Regions from separate parts of the Homo sapiens genome. Here all the other regions are linked to region 2. Evidence: promoter capture Hi-C in 16 types of primary human blood cells and fetal thymus (Javierre and others, 2016). All regions are on one chromosome and are shown on one strand. Each heading gives the region's core, a stretch centred on a gene start or on the middle of the fragment in contact. The rest is flanking DNA. Distances are from core to core; before and after follow the strand shown.

Region 1 (2,712 bases), core at 115-2,614, 180 kb after region 2:
ACCCTAATTTGAGAATCACATTGGCCTAAACCATAACCCCGAGTATCTGCCTAATTTTCCTCCACTCATTTTCTGGCTTTGTCTCTTTGTTTAGAGGAAAACCATGCTCTAAATACTAGCTGTTCTCTGGATTCTTAGCATCCAGATTTAATTTTGCCTCCTTAATCCACGATTTAAAAAAGGAATTAGATGCATAGAACTCCAAACTTAATATGTATGGTAGATAGAATAATGTCTATCCACCAAACAAACACAAAAATATGTCTATGCCTCAGTCTCTAGAAACTGTCAGTATCTTACATTACATGGCAAAGGGGAATTTGCAGATGTAATTAAGGTTATGAACCTTAACAGAGGGAGGTTATCCTGGCTTATCCAAGTGGCCCAATCTAATCATATGAACTTTAAGAGCAGAGAAATTTCTCTGAGTCAGAAAGGCAGCAGAAGACAAAGGCAAAAGAGATGTAACAGAAGAGGAAGCTGGAGAGATTTTAAGTGTGAGACGGATTAGAGGCACCGTTGCTGGCTGTGAGATGCCCACCTACAAGGACTGAGGATAAACCTCTAGGAGATAAGATGCTCTCCAGCTAACAGCACACATGGAAATGATGAGTTTAACCCTACAACTGCAAGGAACTGGATTCTGCCTGAATAAGCTTAGAAGCAGATTCTTCCCAGATCTCCCCTGTACTGAGAAGGATTAATTGATTAGGATCTCACTAATAGGGGTTGGGCAGACTGACACCTTGATTTTAGTCTTGTGAAACCTAGAAGAGAGAAACCATAGAACAAATCTGGATTTATGATCTAAAGAACTGTGAAATAAATTTGTATTGTTTTAAGCACAAATCAGTGGATTGTTTAAAATAGCAGCAGTAGGAAACTAATACAGTATGTTTCCAGACAAGGAAGGAAAGTATGAATTAGAAGGAGAGGAAATCATGGCAACTAAAAGAATTGATAGATTTAAAAATGGGAGAGTTTTCTACTGATGCTTAGTATGGTTCTGATTTTAGTCCAGTGTTGCTATAAAAAAATGAGTAATTGTCCATTAACTGGACAACATTCGGCATAAAATCTTTCTTTCTTAAAGGGCTCAAGTCAGTATCTGCATTATAGGCATAGTCTGTGGTGAGATAAAGAAATAGTGAAAAGAGGTAAGAAATGAAAAATATAAAAGCAGGCACATGAGTCCTCTTCAATCCTGCTACCATATGTCTAGTCCTAGAGTAAGAAATAGATCTTTTATGATTTGAAGACAAGTCTCTGTTTTTGGAAACCTCACTTTTATGTCAAAGCCCTCAGATCTGTTGGAAAAAATTAAAAATAAGAATGGCTATATATTCCAGAGAAATAAAGCCATTGACAGACTTTTAAAATTCTTTATTGTTTTGGATCCAAAAAAAGGGACCTCTATGATATATTATGTATCGTTACAATATGGTGCATGGCTTCATCATCTGTACTGAGAAAGATTAATTGAATAGGGTCACACTAATTTACAAGCAATTGTACTATGGGATGAACATGAAACAGGGCTGCCAAGAAAAGTTTTGTCACTTGCACTAGACATTTTTATCTGCAAAGGATGTTTATATCCACCTTGGGTTATTTCCAAGATTTTACTTTGGGTATCACTTTTGGATCTAGGCCTTCACTTAGAGAACTCCTTCCTCCTTAAAAAAGCAAGTGAAGTTCTTGCAACATAGATAAGAAAATCACCAGTGCTACTTCATGTGTTTTTAATGATGCCCTAAAATCACCAGGCAACCACCAACCCGGGACCCGGAAATGAAGAAAGTACGCTATGTCTCAGAGAAATATAAATTTCTAGGAAATAACAACCGAAATGTGTTCATATCTTGAAACTCAGGAAACCTCAGCTACTGAGTTCCAAAGATTTCTCAGATATGTAAATAATACCAAAGGAGATGGGAAATTCCAGTTGTCTTTTATAGTATTCTTGATTTGATGGGGATTTCCTCAAGAGGTTATGACTGTCAAGGAGTGCAGACAGACTTTTTTCTTCTAAGACTGATGACAGCTCCTTTTCCTCACAGACAAAACGTCGAGAAGCTTCTCAAGTTATGACCAATGTTGACAAAAAGAGTCAAATCTGTAACATATTTTTAGAAATTTATTCTGAGCCAGATATGAGTGCCAAGGTGGTCGGGGTACAGCTTGATTTTATATATTTCAGGGAGGCATGAGATGTCAATCAAATACATTTAAGAAATAGGGGAGCAGGGGCTTCCAGGTTATAGGTAAATTTAAACATTTTCTGGTTAGCAGTTGGTTGAGTTTGTCTAAAGACCTGGGATGACAGAAAGGAAATGTTCAGGTTAAGATAAATGATTGTGGAGACCAAGGTTCTTTTGAAGTCTTATAGTGGCTGCCCTTGGAGACAATAGATGACAAATATTTCCTATTCAGATCTTTGAAAGGTGCTAGACTTTTAGTTAATCTCTTCAGGATAGGGCGGGCCTGGAAGAAAAAGATCTAGCTATGTTAATAGAGATTCTTTACAGATGCAGATTGTCCCCCACAAAGGATGGCTTTGCAGGCCCATTTCAAGATGTGGCAGAGAAAAATGTTTTGGGGTAAAATATTCTGATTTTCTTCCTTGTTATGCCAGAGTCAGATTGGAAAGTAAGTCCCAATATACAGGGTTAAATAAAACCCATCAGATGAGAATTTATGGTTTGTAGGGCA
Region 2 (2,763 bases), core at 237-2,736:
AGCTGCAGCTGAGGAGAGAAGCGCCGGCGTGCGCGGTGCCACGTCGGAATTGGCTCTGGGGACGCCGCAGCTGCCGAAGCGCAGCGCGCGGTCCCCACGCACGCCCTGCCTCCGGGCGGCCGGCGGGCTGGCCCGGCGAGGAGAGGAGGGATGCGCGCCCTCCTCCCGCTCCTATCTGCGGGTGCCACCGCCTGCGTCAGGGACCCCTGGCCCGAGTAAGCCCAGACTGACGAGCCTGACACTTTAATGGGGTGCGGGAAGTGCAAAGGAGGGGAGGCCCGGGAAAGGGGGGAGTGGCCGAGAGGGGATGGTAGCTGCGAGGAGGTAGAGAAGGACCCTCCTTCTCCAGGGTCCCAGCTTGTCGGAGCTGGAAGCCCAGATTGCTTAACCCTTTGCATTCCCAGCAAGAAGCGACTTTTTCACTTAGAAGTAAAACGCGCTGGGCTATTCCAGTTTTTCTCCCCACAGTGTGTGTGTGTGTGTGTGTGTGTGGGAAAAAAAGAAGGGAAGGGGTGGGGCGGCTGTGCAGAATGCATTTTCCTTACATTGGGAATTCTTGTTTCCTAACTCTGGAGCCCCTCTGCTGCTCCGGAAGATGCAAAATGGAAAAGTACATCTGAGGACGTGCAGCCTTTCCCAGGCAGAGAGGCTACCTGTGTCCCCAGAAAGGCAGCGGATTTCTGGCGAGAGCCGCAGAAATGGGAAAAGAGGGCTATGTTGCTAAGCCTGACAGTGACCTGAAATATTCCCTGATCTTCAGTCTGTTGGAAATTTTTAAACTTCCAACTTTTCTATCGAAACTGGCTTAAAAATTTTAAAACAATTATAAGGATGTCTTCCTTCTCCCTGGCCTGTTGGAGGACCTTCATCCTTCACCAAAACGCGCCAGTGTAACGTACCTTGTTCAGCTCTTGGTCATAAAGTCGTCCTCAGCCTGTCTGTGTGGTCCCGGAGGGTCGGTGGCGGGCAGTTTCCAAAATTGAGGTAATAAGAGATCAGATGAATTTGAGACGACCGGCCAAAAAAAATAAGAAATTTAAAAACAACATTTAAAAAGGATAGGGGAGTCTTAAATGTTTGATTCTTCCCCACTTTAAAAAATAATTTCACTAATATTCTCTTTATGTTTCCGTTGCACTTCAGTCTAATTCTTAAAAAAATTATGCTTTAAAAATAAATTAACTTTTCTTTTTTCTTTTCTTTTCTTTTTTTTTTTTTTTTTTTTTTGGGCTTCAGTCTTTCTGCCCCCGATAACAGAAAATCTCTTTTTCGTCTTAAAAAAAAAAAAAAAAAAAAAAAAAGCCTGTGGAAGACTCAGCAGAACCCAGGAAGCGCAGAATTGGGAGAAAAGTCTTTGGCTGGGGCTGTTTCAAGTCTCTGGTTCAATGGGCTGCTCGAAGCCAGGACTGGGTAATTCTTTCCAGACGTCTTGACTTCTCCTTCCCCGCCGTTGTTGCCCTTCTGCCTCCTCCAACTTAAGGGGGTCTTAACAAGTGAGCTGGTGGGTGTTTTAATAGGGCGGCGGAGGGAGTGGGGGGGTGAGGGAAGTGGAGAGGGAGGTGTGGACTGGGGAACCCTGAGGGGAGGGAACTGGGAGCGCGGGCGGGCGGGCGAGCGGGAGGCGGGGAGGGGGAGAGGGAGAGAGAGAAATTGGCCATTCAAAGCCTTCTCTGAGCTACAGGCCGGTTCTAAACTCCAATGAATTCAATTAACTTGATTGCTAACGTGTGCAGAGAAATGCAAGACACATAGGGGGCCACCACCTGATTCCTTACTTTCCTCTGGCGGCGGAGGTGGGAGCCCTCGCCTCTTGGATTTCCCTGAACTCCCGCGTTACAAGTTCCCTCCAAGCGATAAACTCCCTGTGGCGCTGAAGTAATTTGTTTTAAAGCCAAATGGTGCCCTTCAGCTAAGTAACCGACCCAAGGAGGAACAGTTGGGAGGGGTGTGTGCACGTGTGTGTGTGTGTGTGTAAGTGTGTGCGTGTGTGTGTGTACCTGGAGCCTTCGACAGCCGGCTGGGACTCTAAAAAGATCGCGCTGGTCCACCACTTGTTAACCCTTTCTTCCCGCCAACTCAAAAGTTTCTGAGCTGACGTCAAGTGTCAAAGCCTTTCTCATAAAGAGGTTTCTGCCGTGGGTGGGCGGAAAACATAGAAAAGTAATTATATGTATATTTTTGCTCAATCTGGTCCCCTAACGTAAACATACTCAAACAGCGCGCATTAAAAATAAAATAATAAAAATTGTTTTCTGGAGGACTTATATTTAGCCATCTTGAAGGAAATGGCTTAACTGGCTTTTGCTTTTTGCAAGCCTTCTGCAAAGTTGACGAGGACAAATATGTCTTGCTTGGAGATGGCCTTTCCTCGTCGTTTTCACAATGCCCCAAGGCTGGGTAGAGTTCGTTTTTTGGTTACTCCTCCCCCCACCACTCCGCCTCCTTTCTTTCTCTTGGACCTTGCCAACAAGCCTGCTGATGACTGAAAATGGACAGTAGGTGGCACTGTTGAGGAAAAAATGAGAGTGACTTTACAAATTAACCAACTTGGTCTTGGGAGATTGCGCTGAAATTGTTATAGGGTAAAACAGATTTTTCTTTCTTTCTTTTTTCCTTCTTCCCCTTCCAAGGATCTTCTGAGGGGTGGACTTCTTTGGAACTCGACAGGACCTTGAAGACTGGGTTCTTAGTCCTTATCACATATATGGGCTATAATGAATAAGTCTAAACAGAAAAGTCGAATAAACTGGAAATGATGCTTTC
Region 3 (2,700 bases), core at 154-2,653, 200 kb after region 2:
ACTTCTGTAGGAAAGGAGGAAAGCTTCCTCTTGATCAGATTTTTTTTTTGGCCTTTTTTTTTTTCTCTCTAATAACAATGTTTATATCTCATAGATCTGCACTGGCTTTCTTGGAAAACTCATTTTATGTTCTTGCCTTATATTTAGGTGAAGTTATATCCTGTAACCCCCCAAAAGTCAACCTTTCATGCTCATAGGGTTGTTATGAAAACTAATTAGTATTAGCTGGGCGCGGTGGCCCATGCCTGTAATCCCAGCACTTTGGGAGGCTGAGGTGGGTGGATCATGAGGTCAGTCATTCAAGACCAGCCTGGCCAACATAGTGAAACCCCCTCTCTACTAAAAATACAAAAAATTATCTGGGTGTGGTGGCGGGTGCCTGTAATCCCAGCTACTCGGGAGGCTGAGGCAGGAGAATTGCTTGAACCTGGGAGGTGGAGGTTGCAGTGAGCTGAGATCACACCACTGCACTCCAGCCCAGGCAACAGTGCGAGACTCCATCTCAAACAAACAAACAAACAAACAAAACTAAACAGTGTAAATGATGATTTTCTTGTATGTAGTTGATTAAACATTTAGTTAAACAACAAAAGAAGATTTGTTAGGGCCCCAGTGGTCTTCAGAATCAAACAATTTTGGTTTGAATCCAGTATTCACCATTCACCAGTTGTTGGCTTTAGGCAAGGTAATCAACCTGTTTATTGCTCATTTTCTTCATCATAAAATTAGAATAAAAAACAGAGACTTAATATTATTGCCTTGAGGATATATGTATATTTCCTAATACAGTTCCAGTCGTATAGTAGGCTCTCAATAAATAGCAACTGCTTTAAAAATATATACTTATGAGAGTCTTCATAGCTATACCTCTGCCAGCCATTAATGGGAGCAGGATTTGGGCTCTCCCATTTATGGGAGTTTTATGCTGTATACACTAGAGCAGTGTTGACATAATTTAGGCTTAGTAAATGTTTGGTGAACCAGAAGATGAATAGAGGCCTCATGTAACTCCCAGCCATGTCTTCAAATCTTAACATTTAAATCATATCAGCCCTCTGTGACTTTGTGTAATGATAGTCTGGGGACATGCAATGGCCCAGTGCAAATAAAAATTGAAACATTTTCAACATTTTCTCCTATTAGCAATGTTTTTACAAAGAAATTTTCTAGTCTTAAATAAGCACTTACATAAGAAGTGGTGAGAATAAAGTAAATCAGCATATACTTTGATGAAAATGGAATTGCCAGAGCTGTTATCTAAATTAAGTTGGAAATGTGAGTGATGATGTGAGTGTTATGAGTGGATTCACACAATTTTTGTTTTTGGACCTCTAAATGATGTCATCAGCCTTTCCTCCTTGTGCTTTCTGCCATCTTCAGTGATTCTGTAATGCCACATAGTTGGATACTGAAGTATCAACTTAACTCATTTCAAATCACAGATTCAGTGTCCTCTGCTCACATAGAAATGGAACCACCCTCCTTGCCATTTACAATAACTCCTGACCATCCAGCTATGAGGTGCCCATGATTGTACTGACAGTTCCCAAAGTTCAACCACCCATGTTCTCATCATATATAGATAATACATATCTGTCTTCCATATTGAAGTTTTCATAGCTTTTCATATCGATTCTCTCATACAGTCCTTATAACCAATCTGTGGAGGTGGCTGAAAAAGTATGACATCATTATTTTAGAGATAAAGAAACTGAAGTTAATCTAGGTGTTACCATTTTAGAGAGAGAAACTTGGTGGTCTCAGTAAAACTTGGCCCTAGTTTCACCTTTGAAATGAATTCATTGTTATGGGCATTCATGCTGTTTAGGTCTAAATCTACTCCTCTGTTACATGCCAAATGGATTTCTTGGTTTGTTTCCAACAATAACATCCAATGTTTCCTAACTATTCCAAATACAATTCAGATAAAAATGTTATGGTGGCAGTAGTAGAATCTAAGTCTTCTGAGCCCTACTCAAGTCATTTTTCTAGAGAGCTGCCAATGGCCAACATGAAGACAGAGTCCTGGGCATGTCCTTTATGCCAGAGGTTTCCAGATATGGATGCTTAGCAGATTTACCTATTTTTGTTAAAAATACAAACTCTGGAGTTCATTCTCAATGATTCTGATTGTGTAGGTCTGGTTTTTAAGCCTATGTTGAAACCTGATGATTTAGGACATGAAAAAGACTCCTAAATGTATTGGTTTCATGGCCTTTCCTTGAAGTGGTGCCAATACAGTAACCTGGCTGTCATTTGACTCTGATGTAGACCAAGTCAATGGCCTTAAAAGGATCTACTGGGGATATTAAGGTGCATTCTTCAAGTTCCATTTTTTTTTCTAGGAAATCTGATATCCAACTCACAATTTTCTCCCATTTTAAGGCGGGGTCTTGGGGATGGACAAAATAGGGTGAATGAGCATGCTATTCTGGATCCCAGAGCCATCTCTGGAGAGAGAAATCATACTGAATCAAATCACCTTCCCCACAAATATCTTTCAGAAGGAATAAATTAATATGGTTAGTTGCTACCAAACAATTGACTTTCAGACAATGACCTTTACCTTCTCACTTCTCTCACTGAGATAAAGTGAAGGGCAGCCCCATGGCTCCTGCTGTTAAGTGGAACCTAAGTGGAAGAGAAGAGGGACCAATGTTTCTGAGCTGATAATCACCTAGAAAAGGTACTTAACAGAGT

Evidence for each region. Contacts are between HindIII fragments. The CHiCAGO score rates a contact against its expected background, and 5 or more counts as called.
Region 1: a fragment that was not itself captured here is called in contact with the fragment with the promoter of HAS2 in region 2 in 2 of 17 cell types (non-activated CD4 T cells and total CD8 T cells); the score reaches 6.3 in non-activated CD4 T cells.
Region 3: a fragment that was not itself captured here is called in contact with the fragment with the promoter of HAS2 in region 2 in 3 of 17 cell types (non-activated CD4 T cells, activated CD4 T cells and naive CD8 T cells); the score reaches 7.0 in non-activated CD4 T cells.

The regions. Positions count from the first base shown.
Region 1 is chr8:121,821,004-121,823,715 of GRCh38, forward strand. No RefSeq gene overlaps it. Among named protein-coding and RNA genes, the nearest start is that of LINC02855, 120 kb to the left of the region's middle. RefSeq lists an enhancer at 2,153-2,712. The HindIII fragment of the contact is 1,420 bases long and covers 655-2,074 here.
Region 2 is chr8:121,639,954-121,642,716 of GRCh38, forward strand. It overlaps HAS2 (hyaluronan synthase 2), which reads right to left and starts at 1,487. Exons shown (of 4, transcript NM_005328.3): 1 at 900-1,487. It also overlaps HAS2-AS1. RefSeq lists an enhancer at 2,146-2,763. The HindIII fragment of the contact is 9,649 bases long and covers 1-2,763 here.
Region 3 is chr8:121,837,183-121,839,882 of GRCh38, forward strand. No RefSeq gene overlaps it. Among named protein-coding and RNA genes, the nearest start is that of LINC02855, 140 kb to the left of the region's middle. The HindIII fragment of the contact is 2,765 bases long and covers 22-2,700 here.